2 separate regions of the Homo sapiens genome follow, and region 1 is linked to region 2. Evidence: promoter capture Hi-C in human tissues and cell types (Jung and others, 2019). All regions are on one chromosome and are shown on one strand. Each heading gives the region's core, a stretch centred on a gene start or on the middle of the fragment in contact. The rest is flanking DNA. Distances are from core to core; before and after follow the strand shown. Region 1 holds the start of SCUBE1-AS1 (SCUBE1 antisense RNA 1). Region 2 holds the start of SAMM50 (SAMM50 sorting and assembly machinery component).

Evidence for each region. Contacts are between HindIII fragments. The study calls those that stand out against the background at their distance.
Region 1: a fragment that was not itself captured here is called in contact with the fragment with the promoter of SAMM50 in region 2 in 1 of the 25 tissues and cell types used here (lymphoblastoid cells).

The regions. Positions count from the first base shown.
Region 1 is chr22:43,275,538-43,279,562 of GRCh38, forward strand. All of the region lies in intron 4 of SCUBE1 (signal peptide, CUB domain and EGF like domain containing 1), which reads right to left. SCUBE1-AS1 (SCUBE1 antisense RNA 1) reads left to right here and starts at 405. Exons shown (of 2, transcript NR_134582.1): 1 at 405-474. RefSeq lists an enhancer at 2,183-2,683. The HindIII fragment of the contact is 5,790 bases long and covers 1-4,025 here.
Region 2 is chr22:43,953,227-43,957,116 of GRCh38, forward strand. SAMM50 (SAMM50 sorting and assembly machinery component) reads left to right here and starts at 2,216. Exons shown (of 15, transcript NM_015380.5): 1 at 2,216-2,372. The coding sequence starts at 2,352. It also overlaps the pseudogene RPL35AP36. RefSeq lists enhancers at 1,441-2,193, 1,861-1,910, 1,991-2,070, 2,194-2,945, 2,751-2,960 and a silencer at 2,034-2,308. The HindIII fragment of the contact is 14,031 bases long and covers 1-3,890 here.

The DNA of each region.
Region 1 (4,025 bases), core at 870-3,369, 680 kb before region 2:
GGTCCTGCAGTAGAGGGCTGAACCATTTCAAACACATGAGTGCAAGTAAAGAGGAAGACGTGCACGCCTGCCTAAGAGTCAGAGACAGCTTCAGAGAGGAGGTGAAAGTGCGCTGGGTTTTGATGGATGACTAAGAGTTCTCCAGGAAGGGAGGGGAATGGGAAATGGCAGTAAAGGCAGAGGATGACACATACCGAGGTTGTAATCAGTAAAGGGCACGTGTGCCGTAACAGGGAGAACAACAGGCAGATGGGGAGGAACCAGGAGAGAGGAACTGGACTGTGGGAGGCCTTGGGAGGCAGGAAGGCAGCAGTGCCTGACAATGGAGGAACTCGGAGGGGGGCGGAGAAAGCGCCCCGGCTGCAGGATGCAGGAGGGAAGGGGGATGAGGCGGAGGTAGGGACACCAATTAGCAACCACAACCTTTGAAGAAGGCAGGGCAACAGGGGTGAGGAAGCTGGCTGGGTTTGGGAGGTGAGTAGAGCTCGGACGTGGGATCCGGTCACACTAGGATGTGGGAGCCACACAGGGGAAGGGTGAAGGCAGCACCCCAGCGCTGGTGCCCCACTGATGGGGGACGCGCTAGGAAGCACAGGTCTGGGAGGATGGGAAGATGCTGCGTTTGGTTTTGGGCAGGTGGGAATTCTGTAGCTGGGGTCCCCGTCTAGGGGACAGTTGGTACTGGGGTCAGAGCTGGAGAAGTGGCCACTGCTGGTCAGCAAGGAGACTCAAGAAGCTTAGGGGAGAGCTAGGAGAGGGCTGAGGCAGAGGAGGAGCCAGGATCGGGGGCTGAGGAGGAAGGGAAGAAGTCCCATGGGACGTACATGCTGAAAGAGTCTGGTGACATAATCAAGCAGCCACCAGGCCGGGAGACAAAAACCCACCTGGCTGGCCTCAGGCGGGTGACGAGGACCTGGGGAATGCTGCGGCCAGGGGTGGCCAGGCAGACGTCCCACCAGGAGATTGGCCTTGTGGCCACAGTCACAACCCAATTTCCCTAATGAGGCTAGGGAGGGCTCACACCACTCCCTAATGACCCAGGATGACCTCGGCTGCTTCCCCACTCTGCCAACCAGGCATCTGCCCGGTGGTTTCCGAACCCACACTCCAGATCTGCATGACTTTCCATGCGTAGGGCCTGTGCCCACAAACCCCAGGTGGGAAGCCAGGCTGTGGGCTACGGTGTAGGGGGTGGGCACTGGTCTGGAGCCTAGGGGCCTGGGACAAGTTCCAGCTCTGCCCCCAACATGCTAAGTGACCTCTGACAGGACACATGGTGTTTCCAGGGCCTCTGCTACTTCACTCTAGAACAGGCGTGCAGGCCAGCTTCCCTCCAGGGCAGCATGCTTTCGGTTCTCACGCACGTCAACTCCATGACCTCGCCTCAGCTTTTCCTGACTGCCTGCTCCCTACAGACCCCAGGCTGGACACTGGGGGGCCAGCGGGTCCTTGTGTCCAAGGGCATATCCTCACTTGGGGGAGAAAGGCCCGGGAGCAGAGACATGAGAGACAGGGCAGGGAGGCTGAGGGTGGAGGCCGAATGAGACAGAGGCAGGGATGCGTAGGTTCCACCTGGGGGATCAGGAGGTGTGCGGGGAAAAGGTGTAGAGGGTTCTCAGTGAGCGATGGTCAGTCAGGATGAGCGGGAGTTCCAGACAGAGGGAGCTGTGTGGGCAGAGGCCGGGATGAGAAGTTCACTATGGCTGGTTCATGACATGCCAAGCAAGGACAGGCTGCAGAGAACCACATTCCTCTCAGGAGCCATGGGAAGGTCTTGAGTGGGGAATGACAGAGCCAGAGGGTTGGGCAGAGCAGTGGTTCTGGCTGCTACCAGAAGGCTTGCGGGGCAGGGAGGCCTGTGAGGCAGCTGCCGCACTAACTCAGGCAAAAGACGGCAGCGCAGCCCTAGGCAGAGGGCAGCATGGCGAGACAGGGGCTCCTTGTGTCACAGGGCATCTGGGCTGCACAGCACCCCTGCCCCTGGCCCCCCATCCATTGGTTCATCAAGTGTCTTTGATCTTAGGAGGCGGTTGGGCCTGGGTGCAAATCTTGGCTTTGCTACTTCTTCACTACGGACAAGTCTCTTTGCTTTTCAGCCTCCATTTGCTCACCTGCAAAATGGGGTAGCTACATGACACAGACTGTTCTCAGGATCTGATGACTCGTGTCAGAGTCTATGCACTATGCTCAGCTATGATGCGTATGACAGCTTTGCACAGTTCTAGTGATCTGGACCGGGCTCTACATGAGGCGATGTCTTGTATATACGATCTCATTTTAATTCTCGTAAACAATTCTGTCATAAAATATATGAATGTTTGCCCCAGGACTTGTGGCAGAGAAGGACGCCAGGGCTGGGCAAGCTACCTGTTGGCCTAGCCCTCTGGGTTGCAGCTCTCCCTGCCCTGCACCCACAACTCTGGGAGATTTGAAAGTTCTGCAGCTTAGGGGAAATTTATACCACTGATGTGAAGTCAGTACTGGGGGTGCCCCTGGCGCCGGCTCAAGGCCAGGCCAGGAGAGGGGCGTGAAGCTGGGCTTACCAGCCGAAAGAGTTGTTTATGGAGTGGGAGGCTCATAAAAAATAATGGGCTGGATTTATTGTCCCCACCTTGAGGGCCATTCCGGACCGCACAGGGCCAGGACAGGCCTCCTCCGGTAGCACCATAAATCTCTCCAGTAAGCAAGGGAGCTGTTTATTCTCCTGTCCACCTGGTCTGCAGCAGGCAAGGGAGCGAGGAGAACCTGCAACCCCACATGTCCTGCCTGGCGCCCTTGCCTGGCTGATCTTCTCCAAGGAGTGGCTGAAGAAGGCAGGTGCTGAGGCTGGGATGGGATTCGGAGGCATGGCCACACCCTCTCTTTAAACAGGAAGTTCCTAGCCGTGCTGCCCCAGCACTCACAGTTGATAATGGAAAGCCCTGGAACAGGGCAGGGGATGTCTCTGGCCCTGCAGGAGCCGTGCTAGGGCCCCTCAGGTCAAGGCCTGGCCCAGATCCTATAGGAATCCCGTCCCAGGAGCCAATAGGAACCTGACAGCTAGGCACACTGATAGGATCCTATCAATATGTGGCTGAGGTGGCTCAGGAGGGCCCATGGGTCTCTGTCCATTGGCTTGTTTCTTTGAGTCTGCAAGTGGATGGTGCAGGGCAAAAAGAACTGACATTGGCCTCAGAATCCAGCCCCTGATCCTGAAGTCCTGCCCCCCCAGTGCAGCTCAGGGAAGCTCAGTTTTCCCTCCCATGATGGGGACATTAGTACTTATCCAAAGCATGTCACAGGGTGGCTGTGAGCATCAGGCGACCCTGTATGGAAACCACAGCAAAGCTCCAGGAGGGTGGAGCTGGGCCTGTCGAGGACACCTGAGCTGCGGGAGGGTGGGGCTGGGCCTCCTGAGGACACCTGTGGGCTGAGACAGGTTTGGGGGAAGGACAGTGTCCAGTCAGCCTGCAGGCCACAGACAAGCCAGAGTGGGAGAGGCAGAGTGGAAGACAGAGTCAAGAGGAAGCTCGAGGACCAGCCTGGAAGAGGCTCTTGGGAGGGCCCAGGACTAGAGTCTGGGGTGGGAAAGAGGCTAAGGGCAAGGGTTTCAGATACAGGCTGCCCCAGACGCTGCTGGGGAGAAACACTAGGTCTCTGCTCTGGCTCAACCCCAGGAAACCTGTACCCTAAAACTCTCAGGTAACCTTTGTCAAGGAGCCCCCAGCCAGTCCTGAGACAGCTGTGGACTTGGAACAGGGGGCTCAGGCCCCAGAGGCAGGGTGGGCTTGCTCTCTGGCAGTGCTTCTGACAGTGGCCGCCTCGGTGCATATGCTGTGCAGGGCCTCACCTCCAACCACTTAGGAGGCTGAGTGCCAGCAGGAAAGAAACCTTTATTTTTAAGCCCACCACAGAGTAAGCATGTGCTACGGTCTGCATGATTGTGTCCCCTCCAAAATGATGTTGAAACTGAACCCCTATTGCGGCAGCCCTCACCAGACAGTGAATCTGCCAGAGTCTTGATCTTGGACTTCCAAGCCTCCAGA
Region 2 (3,890 bases), core at 966-3,465:
AGTTATGCTGCATTAACAAGCAAAACCCAAAAGGTTTATTTCTCATTCGTGCTGTATGTCCAGCAAATGTGGCTGGGCTTCATTTTAAGTCGTCCTCACTCCCAGACCTAGCCTGTAGGTGCCCCACCATTGGGGGATCGCTGATTGCCATGGCATGGTTAGAGAAATATGGTTCTTAAAGGTTCTCATCCAGAGTGGCACATCTCTCTTCTGCTCACAATGTGTTGACCAAAGCAAGTCACATGGATGGGAGCAGGGAGATGCAATCCTCTCTTGTGCCCAAAAGAGGAGCACAAGAAATACTGTTGAATAGCATTGCCAGAGGCCACAGAAAAATCTCCAAAACCAAAAATCTCTATGACCCAATAAATTCAAGAAATACTGGGTTAAAGAGAAGGAAACCAGTATATGCACTGTGAGACTTCTCAGTCTTTATTATATACATTGTAACCATCACAGACAGCCTTTAATATATACATCTTAACTATCACAGACAGCCTTCAGTATATTATATACATTATAACCATCACAGACAGCCTTCAATATATTATATACATTATAACCATCACAGACAGCCTTTAATATATACATTATAACTATCACAGCCTTTAATATATTATGTACATTGTAACTATCACAGCCTTTAATATATTATATACATTGTAACTACCACCGCCTTTAATATAGTATACCCATTGTAACTATCACAGCCTTTAATATACACATTGTTAACTACCACAGACAGCCTTTAATATATTATATACATTGTAACTATCACAGATAGCCTTTAATATATACATTGTAACTATCGCAGACAGCCCTTTGTTTGAGGGTAAAGCATGTGACTTTGTTTTCCTCCTGTTCCCTCTGCCATCCTCCAGGGCCTCACACACAATAGGCTCTCAAATATTGCAACCATCTTGCACTCTGCAGGGCAACCTCATGGCTTATCCTTTACAAGTGGCATACTCAGAAGAATAACGAGGAAGAAAGTGTAAGAAAAGAGGGCTGTTTGGGCAAAGAAAATCTGGTTGATTCGATGTTTACAGAGTGCCAGGCCCCATGCTTGATCTCATGAGGTCCTCAGACCTTATGCCTTAGGCTATCATTTCCATTTTACAGATAAGGAATTGAGGCTCAGGGAACTGAGAGTGAGGGAAGGGCAGGGGCCTGGCTGGTGCTGGGTTCTGTCTCTTTCCAGGCAAGAAGGGACATGTGGACTTGAATATTTAGCTCAGGGATGTTGGAGGCCTAGGGTGCTGCTATTTAAATGGAAAGGGTGTCAGGGTTTCTGGGAGGGAGTAAGGGGACAGAAGAAAAGATGCTTCTGTTATCAGAAGGGAGTGGCAACGTGACAGGATACTGAAGCTTCCTCTTTTCTTATTCTGTCTCGTTTCTTTCAATATACTTATCACAATGTGTGGCTGATATTTATTATGCCTTTTTCTTTTCTATTCTCTTTTCTTTTTTGGGGCAGGGGAGCTGTTTTGCCACCAAAACCTAAGCCCATGGCCGTCTTCTTCACCGATATGACTGGTTCTCATGCAAGCACCTAGATGGCCCTCGCCCATAATTACTGGCTGCAGTTGAGTGAATAGCGGTCATTATCTAGCGCCCACCGTGTGCCCGGCCCGGTGCCGGGAGCTTTGCTTTCCGTCTCTCACATTAGGCCCTTTTAATCCAACCCCCAAGAAGGAGACACGACCATCGTCTTCATTTTGACGATTTTGAGTGGGGGTTCCAATGACTTGAACGAAAGGAGCCAGGGCACCAATCCGGGTTTGTGTAGCAGATGCCGGTGAGACCCGACTACTGCAGCTCGGGGGTGGCCGGACCCGGGGTCTCCCCGCTGAGTCTCGGGGCTTCACCGGCGCGTGGGCACAAGCACAGCACCCTCGGGTCGGGGGTGCTAGGAGGGCTAAGAGCAGCAGGACTTGAGTGACACCCAACAGCTGGTCTGATCTCTTTCAGGCGCCAACGCCAGACGCCAGCCTCCCAGCGGACCCTCTCGCAGACCCACCTTCACCCCACGCGCCCTCCCCACACAGTCCACGCGCCAGCAGCTTCGCGGATGTCAGTGAACGCTCTTCGCTTGCGCAGTCAGAACGTCCTCCGCGGCCGTGTGAACATCCGGGTCACAGGCGCATAAGGACCAATGAGCGAAGGCATCGCGAGCCAGGGGGCGCGGAGAAGGCGGGGAATCATGGCCGCCCCCAGTGTTCCGCGTCCGGGGGTTTGTGGGAGTTGCCTTGACCTGCAGCTCCGCCACCGCGGACCCGCCTTCTGCCCTCAGCAGCAGACGCTCTGTCCCGCCCGGGCAGCTCTGCGAGGCAGCGGCTGGAGAGGGAACCATGGGGACTGTGCACGCCCGGGTAAGAGGCCCAGCGACCCGCGGGCTGCGAGGCCTCTGGGCCAGCAGGGCAGACGGGCGCCGCGGGGAGACGCTCTCGTGGCTGCGCCCAGGGTTCACCGGGAGAGAGGGTGCCAAGGGTGCCGGGCTGGGTGGAGGAGGCCGAAAAGAGGTCGCCTCGGGCCAGCGAGTCTTGCAGACCTTCGAGCAGGAACCTGATAGGAGGGACGAGACTTGGCTAAAGGTCACTCGGCGAGTCCGTGGCCCAAAGGACTTGCCAACTTTCTGTGATGTCTTAGACCGCAGTGAATGTGCTCTTTCTTTGCATGATTTTAAGTTTTCTCTCTTTACTGGTCACTTCCAGCCTTTCCCCGCTCAGCCGCTGCTGGAGCCATTGTAGGCTCCTAGAGCAACAAGAATCCTTTGAAGTCTTCTAACTCAAACCTATCTAGGGGTCCTCTTTTCTCCTGTCTACCGTGCAAAAGACGGAACCGCTCTCTGCCTTACTTCCTGTTTTAAAGTGGAGGTAGTAATAGTACCTACCTCGCCTGGCTTAAAAGAGAATTAAAAGACAATGCATGTGAATACTTGGGTGCCTGGCGCCTGACTAACTGTACTGGTTGCCAAACTCCTCTCGTTTATCCTAATCTTAAATAAGGGCCAGATAATGAGTTACTTCTCCAAGGTCACATAGTTACTGGTTCCAAATGGCCTAAAACCTCAGATTTCCTGAGTCTCAGCCCCAACACTACTTTTCTACTGCAACTTTGATTGCTTCACTTGACCTGCATAGACGTTTTCAGTAGTTCCCCATTAACTTCCAAAAAAATTTAGCACAGAAGTCGCAGCCTGACATCGATAATTGGACTTAACTTCCCTTTATATGTCTTTCATTCAGATCAAACACCGTTTCTCTTCTGACATCTCTTTGTGTAACTGTAATAGGTCTGTTGCTCAGTGTGCTCGATAAGTCAATACACTCAGACAGTGGGTTGCAGCAGAGAAAGAGTTTCAGTTGCAGGGCCGCTGAACGAGGAGATGGGAAAAGAGAGGAAACCTCAAATCCATCTCCTTCAGGAGTTTGGACCTCATGTTTTTGCTGAAGTGTGGAGATCCTTGATTGGTGGAAGAGTGAAGGGTGAAGTTATGGGACAGGGAGATGAGGAAACTTCTCATGCTGATTCCGTTCCTCTGTTGCGGGGAGGAGTCTTCAAACTGGTTGGCAGCATCAGTTTTGCTGGAATTCGAGATCTGAAAAACATCTAAAGCAACTCTTAAGCAAAAGCCTTATGATTCTAATTTTAGAAATCCTATCTGTAAAATCAATGGGGATGCAAATAGTATCTGTGACTTTTGGTTACTAGCAAGTAGGTCAGAGTGCAACCTGAGCTCTTCCTGCCATCTTGGCTCCTGTGGCGGCCTGCCGGGAGCAGGACTTCTGAAAGGAAATATGTCTGGAAGGCTGTGGTCCAAGGCCATTTTTGCTGGCTATAAGTGGAGTCTCCGGAACCAAAGGGAGCACACAGCTCTTCTTAAAATT